Regions from separate parts of the Homo sapiens genome. Here region 2 is linked to region 1. Evidence: promoter capture Hi-C in 16 types of primary human blood cells and fetal thymus (Javierre and others, 2016). All regions are on one chromosome and are shown on one strand. Each heading gives the region's core, a stretch centred on a gene start or on the middle of the fragment in contact. The rest is flanking DNA. Distances are from core to core; before and after follow the strand shown. Region 1 holds the start of SORT1 (sortilin 1). Region 2 overlaps AKNAD1 (AKNA domain containing 1).

Region 1 (5,070 bases), core at 2,368-4,867:
GGTGTTGATAAATGAACTAGTCCAGCTCTTCCCAGTGGTTAATAGATGTTAACAGCACTGTAAATCCATTTCGGCCCTATAATTTCTGGAGCAAACGTGTATTTTTGCTGCTTTTCTTATAAGGAGATGCTACTAATTGACTATCAGAAGAACATGTTTTGAGGTCCTCCTCAAAACATTGATGGGTTGGAATCAGCCATCAACAGTGTTGTACCAGTTCTTGGGTCTTGATAGACAATTTGGAAAGAGATTTCCTTGTTTACGAAGTGAAGGACTAAGAATTAAATTAATGACCTTGGCCTCACTGGCAATCAATTACAAATCTCTATATCAGTAAGAGAATTGTAAAATTCAGAAGCAGTTTACATTAGACTTTGGAATGAATGATGAACTTTCCCCATTAGAGCTGCCATCATATGATTGGTGGAGATTGTTTAAAGAATCATTCTATCTCAGCCTCAAAAATTACCACGGGAAGATGGTATCAGTATCACTACTTAACAGATGAAGAATCTAATGCTGTGTGCCCATGGACACACAAAATTAAGCTGTTGGGACTTGAACAGCTCAAATTTTCTTGTTTCAGATCACCAGCTCTTGAGTAATAGGGAAATCTGGAGATTTGAAAAGTACTTGCACTGTCCACAACATGGCTAATCCATATGTGGATGATGCAGAATTGATTTAATTCACTAACAGGGACCCCATAATTATTTGCTGGGCTCTGGGTATATTGATGTGTAGGAAGTTGTACTATATGTTAATAAATTATGACTATTTGGATAGGCTGAATTCATACTAAATCCATACTGTAGTTCAACAAAAAACAACATGTTTATATACATTTGGAAACTGCAATGATAGGAAACATTTGGAAGAAAGGGATTTTGCCCTAGAATAACACATAAGGAAAGCAGAGAATTAGAGTATATTGTTACTGAATGTTCCAGAGACTTCTAGTGATTTTAACACTTATTAAGTATAGCATGTTGATGGGGAGATTTGTTTCTCTAAAGATCACTTTGTTTTATTAAATCCTAATAGAAAATACCCTTGAAAATCCTATCTCATTTATTCCTGTAACAAATTTATTGAGCACCTACCTACTATATGCCAAGAAATGTATTAGCCATCAGGCAGAGAGCTGTTCAAATGGTAGATATGATCTGTGCTCCTGTGAAACTTCTAGTGGGGAGAGCCAAACAATAAACAATATTCCTTTTTAACTCTAGGTTAATGCAGAAATGGATAAAGCCCATGTTGCTTTTGGGAGAGGTGAGTTGTGTCTCTGAATCACATGCATTTCATAGGGGGAAAAATGCCCAAATACTAAGGAGTAGCTCTTAGCCTATGTCCGTTCGCCTCAGCTTAAGTTGTTTTCCCTCCCACTGGCTGGGCAGCATATTTGTGTTTTACCTGGTAAAACAGTAAATTTCGTACCTTCTATAATTGGCATTCTTCAAAGAGGTAGAACTTTGATTTTTTTGTAGAATATTAAAACAAGCTTTCTTAGGTTAAAGAAGTGATCTTACTACGAACAGCAATGGTTTCATGATGTGTAATTGCTTTATGTTATCTTTCTGCTATAGAATGTTTCCTGGAGAAAGGTACGGTTTTTAGTAATAAGATAAATTTACTTTAGTCCTGCAAATAAGGTGAAATCTTATGTCCAGTATCTCACAAAGGAGAACTGACAGTGCCACTTTTATATTTAATGTCAATCTCATTAGACAAAAATGAAATATAGTTCCTAGGGTTTCCAATTTAAAAAGTGAAATAATAAATATATTCACTCAAACATTTTCTCAGTGCCATATGCAAGTTACCATGTCCCAGAAGCTGATACAGTTTGAAGAAGGAAATATATAAGTACTGTAAGCCTGTGATAACTAAAAGCAACATACTAAAAAGTGAAGGTACAGATAATTGGAACAAATTTAATAGCGTTTAAAAGTGTATTTGGTAATTTCTCCAGGAGGTGGCACTGTTGAGTTGTTTTTTCTTTTCAGACAGTAAGACAATAGACCATTCATCTTTGTGTCACCCAAACAAAGAAATATTCCTTTATAACCCCCTTTCCTCCCCCCACCTAATCACATGCTACTGGAACTGACTGTCTTGTGATCTACTCCCATAGTTGGCATAGATTTAAAAATAATCTTTTTTAAATTAATCTGATAGTAGTTATGGAAAGGAACAAATTGTTCACCAATTTTCATCAGCTTTATCTTTTCAGTCCAGTAACTGAGAACTTAAAAAGACTATTCTAGTGATTTTACTATCCTGCTCAGATGGCATTCAAAAACATTTTTCACTTCTCACGTCTTGGAAAAATTTGTAAATTCGTTAAGTCTTTTTGTTTGAAAGTTAATGTGACTGGAAATATTTTAATGTAAATATCGGGTTGGGTGCATTGTATCATTTTGCTCTACAATGACTATATCCTCATTTGGGTTTATGGCCAGTTTATAATTAAAAGTAATCTTTACTTGCTTTGAGTGTAATGACTTGCATATTTTGTATCTTTCTATTTGCTACCTTTTCTACTGAACAATTTCTAGCTTTCTGAAGGGATGGAGTCAGTAAGCTTAAGGATTCAGAACTGGTTTTACCTGTGCTACGTGTTGTAGAAGTTGTGTGTGCAGCTTCTGCGGTAAAGGGAACAGCGTAGGGGTTTTATTTTATTCATTAGAGGTGGATCGGGGTGCTAATTTAGAGGACATCACATACTGGAACCAAACTTGTCCGAAGCTCTCACTGCAGAGTTAAGGCACTTTGGTAAAATAAATGTGCATCTAGGAAATGATCATGTGTACAGTAGGCATTGGATCATTCTCTTGCCCCTCTTTTACCTGCCCCTAATGCCTAAGCTACATTCGAAGTCCTGGAAAACCTGTAAGTAATTCCGCCTTTGGCCTACCTCCCCTCAGAAGAGGAAGGTGAGAGAGGCCAAACGTATGGAAAGACTATTCTTCAGGCTTGCAGGAGTCACGGATGTCCTGATGTCTGTCTCCGTAGGATGTGGCCCACATCAGTTCGCATTCACCTTCTTGCAGCAAGGCAGCTGCTTAGCAGACAATGGGCGCTCCAGTGAGCGGGGTTTATAAAAACCCGAAGCCCCGGTTCATGATGGAGCCCCCTTTTCCAGCTGAGCAAGCTCAGGGATTTCCTGGGTAGGTTTTTCCAGGCTCTGCCTCACCGAAGGAATTTTAGGAGTGTCTCTGGGGAACAGGAGGGACGTAACCCAGCCCCAACTTGAGGGCGCTAGAGGTGCGGCAAGGGGTCGCGACGCCAGGAGCCCGGGGCTCGGCGGGAAGGTATGAGAAGCTCCTACGTGAACTCCACAAGCCGGGCCCGGGAGACGCCGGGCGAGGCGGGGTTGACCTCAGCAGTCTCTGCCCCGTTCCAGCCAATCAGTCCCGCATCTTAGCATCCGAATCCAGGACCCCCGAAGCCGGAGGCGACGCGAGCCAATGAGGAGTGGGCCGGGGAAGAGGGACAGGCGGCCAGCCTATGGGGCGGAGAGGCCCGGCCGCGCGTATCCAAGGAGCGCCGCGCTCGGCTCGGGGGTGTGGCGCGCGCCGGCGGGGGTGGGCGGGCGCGCCGGGCGGCAGGTGTCGGCGTCGGCGGCATTCGGCGGCGATGGAGCGGCCCTGGGGAGCTGCGGACGGCCTCTCGCGCTGGCCCCATGGCCTCGGCCTCCTCCTCCTCCTGCAGCTGCTGCCGCCGTCGACCCTCAGCCAGGACCGGCTGGACGCGCCGCCGCCGCCCGCTGCGCCGCTGCCGCGCTGGTCTGGCCCCATCGGGGTGAGCTGGGGGCTGCGGGCGGCCGCAGCCGGGGGCGCGTTTCCCCGCGGCGGCCGTTGGCGTCGCAGCGCGCCGGGCGAGGACGAGGAGTGCGGCCGGGTCCGGGACTTCGTCGCCAAGCTGGCCAACAACACGCACCAGGTGAGCGGGCGCCGGGCCCGGGAGCCGCTCGGGTGCGAGGTGCCGCCCGCGTGCCCCTCCCGGCCCGTGCGCCCCGCGACTCCCGGAGGAGACCCCAGCCCTGCCGCGCCCGCGTCCCCCGGGCCGCAGCCCCGAAACTGCGGCGGGCGGGCGGGCGGAGTCGGGCCCGGGCGGCCGGCGGGGCTGTGTTTTGTCATAGGGGAGGCAATCTTAGACTTCCACCGCATTCTTTTTTTTTTTTTTAAGTTGTCAAAATCTCTTGAACATCGTTTTTCGTCTGTATAAATAATCAGGACCCAGTAACGCTGTTAGGCCCCAGGAAGGTGAAGGAGTAATTAACTCTTGAGCGCTTGCAGAAGTTGGGCTGCGCAGAAGCAAAGGTGTGTCCTCTCTGGGTCAGTACTTTCCGGGTGGGAGAGGCGGGAGTTCAGGAGGCCCGAAGCAGCGATCTGGTCACCGTGTTTTAATAGTTAAGGGGACTAGCTTGGAAATGAGATGGCAATATTTATGTGATCTCTTTTACTGCTTCAGATTTGACCTTCTGTCATGGTACGGAAGTCTGACTAGCATGTCTATATCCCGTGGTGACAAGATTTTCAATAGTTAAGAAACGCATTGCACATATTCTGCTTTGAGCCAGCTCTTGGTCAAAAGACTTTCAAAATTATGGGATTTCTGTCCCTGGGGACAAGCAGCTCAACCTTTGCACACTACTGGACTGACAAAACTAATTATTAAGAAAGTCCTGGTTCCTTGCTTCAGCACAACTTGGGCATCTTTCTCCTATTTCTCTAAAATTAACAATTTAATCCTTGCTAGCCACATTTGCATAATGTATTTTCAATTCTATATATTTTCTCCCTTGCCTGTTTTCCTCTTTCAAAGAAAATGAATTGCACTTGGGGGCAGAGATGGGTGGCCAAGGCTCTGTGCCAGCACTTGTCCTTCTGTAACCGTTTTTCAGCGTCAGCCAAGCCTCAGTCTCCCTTTGGACTGCCTGGTTATCTGGACCATACTTGTTACCTGTAATAGAATTCTCTGATCTGAGGACACAAGACACAAATATTCAGGAATAATTGTGCTTAGTGTATCCCGAGCAGCAGCTGTGTAAAGGTAGCCAAG
Region 2 (4,438 bases), core at 886-3,385, 570 kb after region 1:
CAACATGGTGAAACTGTCTCCACTAAAAATACAAAAAATTAGCTGGGGGTAGTGGTGGGCACCTGTAATCCCAGCTACTTGGGGGGCTGAGCCAGAAGAATTGCTTGAACCCGGGAGCTGAGATTAGGCCACTGCACTCCAGCCTGGGCAACAGAGTGAGACTCCGTCTCAAAAAAAAAAAAAAAAGTCACAGGTAGGAAATACAACCAATAAATCAGCATATAGGAACAGACTTATTTCCTTTAGTCACAGAGGAAATGCAAATTAACACAAAAGGTGACACACCCCTCCCTTCAATTAACAGAAACATTTTCAAGTGATAATTCCTGATGCAGAGGAAGGTGTGGTCAAACTGAGCCGTCCACACTGTTGGTGGCTGTGAAATCTGTACAACTTTTGTGGAAAGCAATTTGGCAATATGGGTCATCACACAAACATGTTCGCAACCTTTGGCCCAGACATTTCCTCAGGAAGTAATCCAAGATGTGGAAAAAGCTATGTGTACAATGATGCTTCTGCCATTGTTTATAATGATGGGAAAAGTACATTTATTTTTTACTTACATAAAGGGTAAGACCTTAGTCAAAAATACACAGTGGGTGGTAACAGCCCTCACAGGTCAGTGGAGTAATTGTTTTGTGTTAAAGAGGGACATATAACCAATCATTTAGGCCCCCAGACAGTCCCTAAACCCTGTTTTAATTCATAGTTGAATATATTTATTTAGAAAGGCTTTTAGAGCTCTACTAGCCAGCGGTCAGATTAATAGATCTAAAAATTATGTTCCTAAATCTGTTCATTATCTGGCGAAGCTTGGAGTAATTTGAAACTAAGGGAAAGATAAAAAGGGGAGAGTATTCTGTCATCTGTACACCAGATTTTAAAATCTGTTTAGAGGAGGAAGGAAGCAAGCCAGGGTGGAAACTTCCATTCTTCAGCCCAGGCCATTAGAGGCGCAGCCCCGACTGAGTGACACATCAGAACTAAGGATGGGCTCTTTCTTCTTTCCCTCCTGTCCCCCTGCGCCTCCCTTTCCCCAACTGGAGGAGAGGTTTGGCGAGTCTCTCTGCCTGAGGTGGCAAGTTCAGCCGGACCTCAGCTGCTTGCTGGGCTGTGCGTGTGCAGCCGCGGCGTGAGTCACATCCTCTATCACATCTCCATCTGTGTGCTTTGTGGCGCAGGAGGATCCCAACGGCACTCCAAGAAGGCAGGATTGTGCAGAGATGACGGCACCCAGTCCGAGCTGTGCCTTCTGTCGCAGGCTCCTTGAATGGTGAGGGCTTCTTGTGGCTACATTCCCAGGGTGGATTGGAGTCAGTCCTGGCATAGTAACTCCAGTGAGAGTGGGCGGCAACTAACTGAGGCCACTGGCTGAGTTATAGAGTCACAGATCTCAGGCCTGGGCACAGAGCCCAGCCTCCCTCGCACCCTACAGATCCTCTAGCAGTGGTCCTCAACTGGGGAGACCATCAAAATCACCATGGGAGATTTTACAATCATGCACATGCCTCCATCCCACCTACTGTCTCAGCATCGCCAGCGGTGGGGCTCTGGTAGGAATATTGCTTTTAAATCTCCCCAGGTGATTCCGATAAGCCCCCTTGGTTAAGAATCATGGTTACAGCCCACGGAGGGTGGTCCTGTAGGCTTTTGATCATTGCCCACATGGGGGATTCTTATCCTGTATAACAAACAGCTCCCACCATCCCTACTCTCTCCTTATGATGAGCAAAAGTCTTCTCTGTTGGGTTTCACCTGAGCCCCCCAGTCCCAGGAACAAGCCTCATCCCTCTTCTCAGGGCTGATTTCTTCCCATTCCTAAGGACGAAATCTTCCAGAGCTAACAAGCTGTAAATCATGTAAAATCCTCAGGAGAAATCCTTTGTTTTTGAAACACCCATTGGTGCAACTATTAATCTGTGTCGATTCAGTATCATTTATTTGAAGCTTCTTTCAGGTAGCGAGAGATGTTACCTCTAAGCTCACTGTGGACTCCGGCCAAAGCTCGGCTCATTGACCTTTGGAAGGTCAAGAGTCAGGGAGGCAGCAGGTGTTTAGCAACCACTGTTATATGTACGTAATGGATTCTAATAGAAGCAGATGACAGGGTCTGAAAGACTGAGGCTTCCTGTTAGAAAGCATTCCATTGTGGGAATGGGCACCTGCCTTAAGAGTTCTAATGAGTGTCCACCCCTGAAAAAAGAAACTGCATGAAGCTCGTGCTAAAAATGGTCATGTGTCATTGTGTGTGGGTCATTAAACCACCATGTCAGTCATCAGCTTTGAGCTGCCCTTTAATCCAAGGGGCACTCATGAAGCTTACTCACTGAGTCATCCCAGGCCTACTATTTTTATTTATTGAATTAAAGTCTAATTTTGGATTTTTAAAGGTTTTACTAAGTATAATGAAAGTATTTTGACATTAAAGAACCATTTTTATTAAGCACTCAAGGTACTAAATTTCTCTCTTCTAAATTCCTAGTCTAGACCCTACAGAAGTACATTAAGTACCAAGACAGGGACCAATGTTCCAGACTAAATAATACTTTTTTATGATAGACAAGCTGGAAAGACAAGCACAACCAAGTGTAAAATCAAATCTCACAGTGAATCCACTGCTGGGGAGTGATGAGAAGATACACATGACTTATGAATTAAAATCTTGTAACTTACATAATCCCTGAGGAATTATTGATTGAAGGGAGGACTATATATTCTTTCTGTTAGAAGATTAAATCTCTCTCTGATGGGACTTGTCCTTTATGAAGCTTGCTGAGGTACATACTGTTTTCAGGATATTTGTAAATTGTTTATATATAAGTGGATAAATTACATATGTATAAAATGTAAAATATGCTTATCCCTTTATGTTATTTCTGATGCAAAACTTTGGATTTAAGTGTGTACTTTAGCTGCTTTGTCTTGTTGAAAAACTGTCTTCTCCAGAGGAATTATGTTTGGCCAGAAGATTTGAGTACACAAAGGAGTTTAAAAGCAGAAAAAGTCCTGTGTTGGACTGCATGCACTTGAGTGAGATCCAAGTTTCCCACTTTGGAGAGCAGATGTTCAAATGCCCCAGAGGAGAAGGGTGGAGACAGAAAATGAGGTGTGAGAAAATATGTGACTCAAGAGGACAGCATGTTTTTCCAAGAGGAGGGAAAGAGCCTGGCTTCTCAGCCCCAGCCCCACAAACCCGCAGCCCCATCCCTTCTCCGCCAACAGCAGGCCAGGGCACAGCGCGGCGAGCATGTGTTTGCCCAGCAATGCCTTGGGCTCAAACCCTAGCCCTGGGCAATCTGCCTCATTTATGCCAGGATATCTCGGGCACAGTGCCTTCCATACTAAGAATGAACAACTTTCCCTGGGGGCTATGACTGTATCCCAGGAGCTTAGCAAGAGCTTTGTTCAGAACTGTTATTAATTCGAATTCCTTTGGAGGAGTTGGGATTTCTGAGGAGGAGGGAGGAAGCTGCAGGTGGGCCACAGGAAGGCTCCTGAACAATGTCCATTGCAGTTGCTTCTTTCTGACGCCACCTGGTGGCCATGTGCAACTAAAATCACCTTCACGTGCTCCCTCAGCCTTTAGTCCCACAGACACCCGGCAAAGCCCACTTTGCTGGAGTTGTTGGATGTAATCAGCTTGTACTTCCAGGACCAAAGCTACGTGACCCATTACTGACGTATAGCATAGTTTCTTCCCCTGGTAGGAACTGTTTGTTTGTTTGTTTGTTTGTTTGTTTGTTTTTGAGATGAGGTTTTGCCATGTTGCCCTGGCTGACCTTGAACTCCTAGTCTCAAGCCATCCACCCTCCTTGGCCTCCCAAAGTGCTGGGATTACAGGCATGAGCCACCATACCCAGCCTGGAATGGATTTTGATGCATGAGGAAAACTCCAAATTTTATAATTCCATACTTCAAATGTGTTTTGTGAATGTGTATGTGATGATTAGATATTAACCTCGGCAGAACAAAACATTTATTTTTCATGTCTTGTATACATTTTCTTTTTTTTTTTTTTGAGTAGGAGTCTCGCTCTGTCACCCAGGCTGGAGTGCAGTGGCGCGATCTCGGCTCACTGCAAGCTCCGCCTCCCGGGTTCCCGCCATTCTCCTGCCTCAGCCTCCCGAGTAGCTGGGACTACAGGCACCCACTACGGCGCCCAGCTAATTTTTTGTACTTTTAGTAGAGACAGGGTTTCACCGTGTTAGCCAGGATGGTCTCGATCTCCTGACCTCGTGATCCGCCCGCCTCAGCCTCCCAAAGTGCTGGGATTACAGGCGTGAGCCACCGCGCCTGGCCTGTCTTGTATACATTTTCTTATCAGGCCAAATTGTGCTGGGGTGCAATTTCTTGTAGAAAAGCTCTCAAACAGGCAGGCAGAGGAGAGCTCTGTGTAGAGGATGACAAGCCCCTCCTACACTGTTCCAGGCTCTAATAT

The links. The method cuts DNA at HindIII sites, captures the fragments that hold promoters and counts their contacts. A CHiCAGO score of 5 or more calls a contact.
Region 2: a contact is called between a fragment that was not itself captured here and the fragment with the promoter of SORT1 in region 1, in 4 of 17 cell types (total CD8 T cells, fetal thymus, naive CD8 T cells and 1 more). The highest score is 7.3, in total CD8 T cells.

Annotation. Positions count from the first base shown.
Region 1 is chr1:109,396,465-109,401,534 of GRCh38, reverse strand. SORT1 (sortilin 1) reads left to right here and starts at 3,617. Exons shown (of 20, transcript NM_002959.7): 1 at 3,617-3,948. The coding sequence starts at 3,643. PSMA5 (proteasome 20S subunit alpha 5) reads left to right here. Exons shown (of 9, transcript NM_002790.4): 9 at 1-2,493. RefSeq lists an enhancer at 2,483-3,464 and silencers at 3,491-3,620, 3,661-3,730, 3,741-3,840. The HindIII fragment of the contact is 10,275 bases long and covers 2,590-5,070 here.
Region 2 is chr1:108,827,394-108,831,831 of GRCh38, reverse strand. AKNAD1 (AKNA domain containing 1) reads left to right here. Exons shown (of 16, transcript NM_152763.5): 10 at 1,182-1,273. The region is part of intron 2 of LOC105378891 (a long non-coding RNA gene); the gene reads right to left. Among named protein-coding and RNA genes, the nearest start is that of AKNAD1, 27 kb to the left of the region's middle. The HindIII fragment of the contact is 371 bases long and covers 1,950-2,320 here.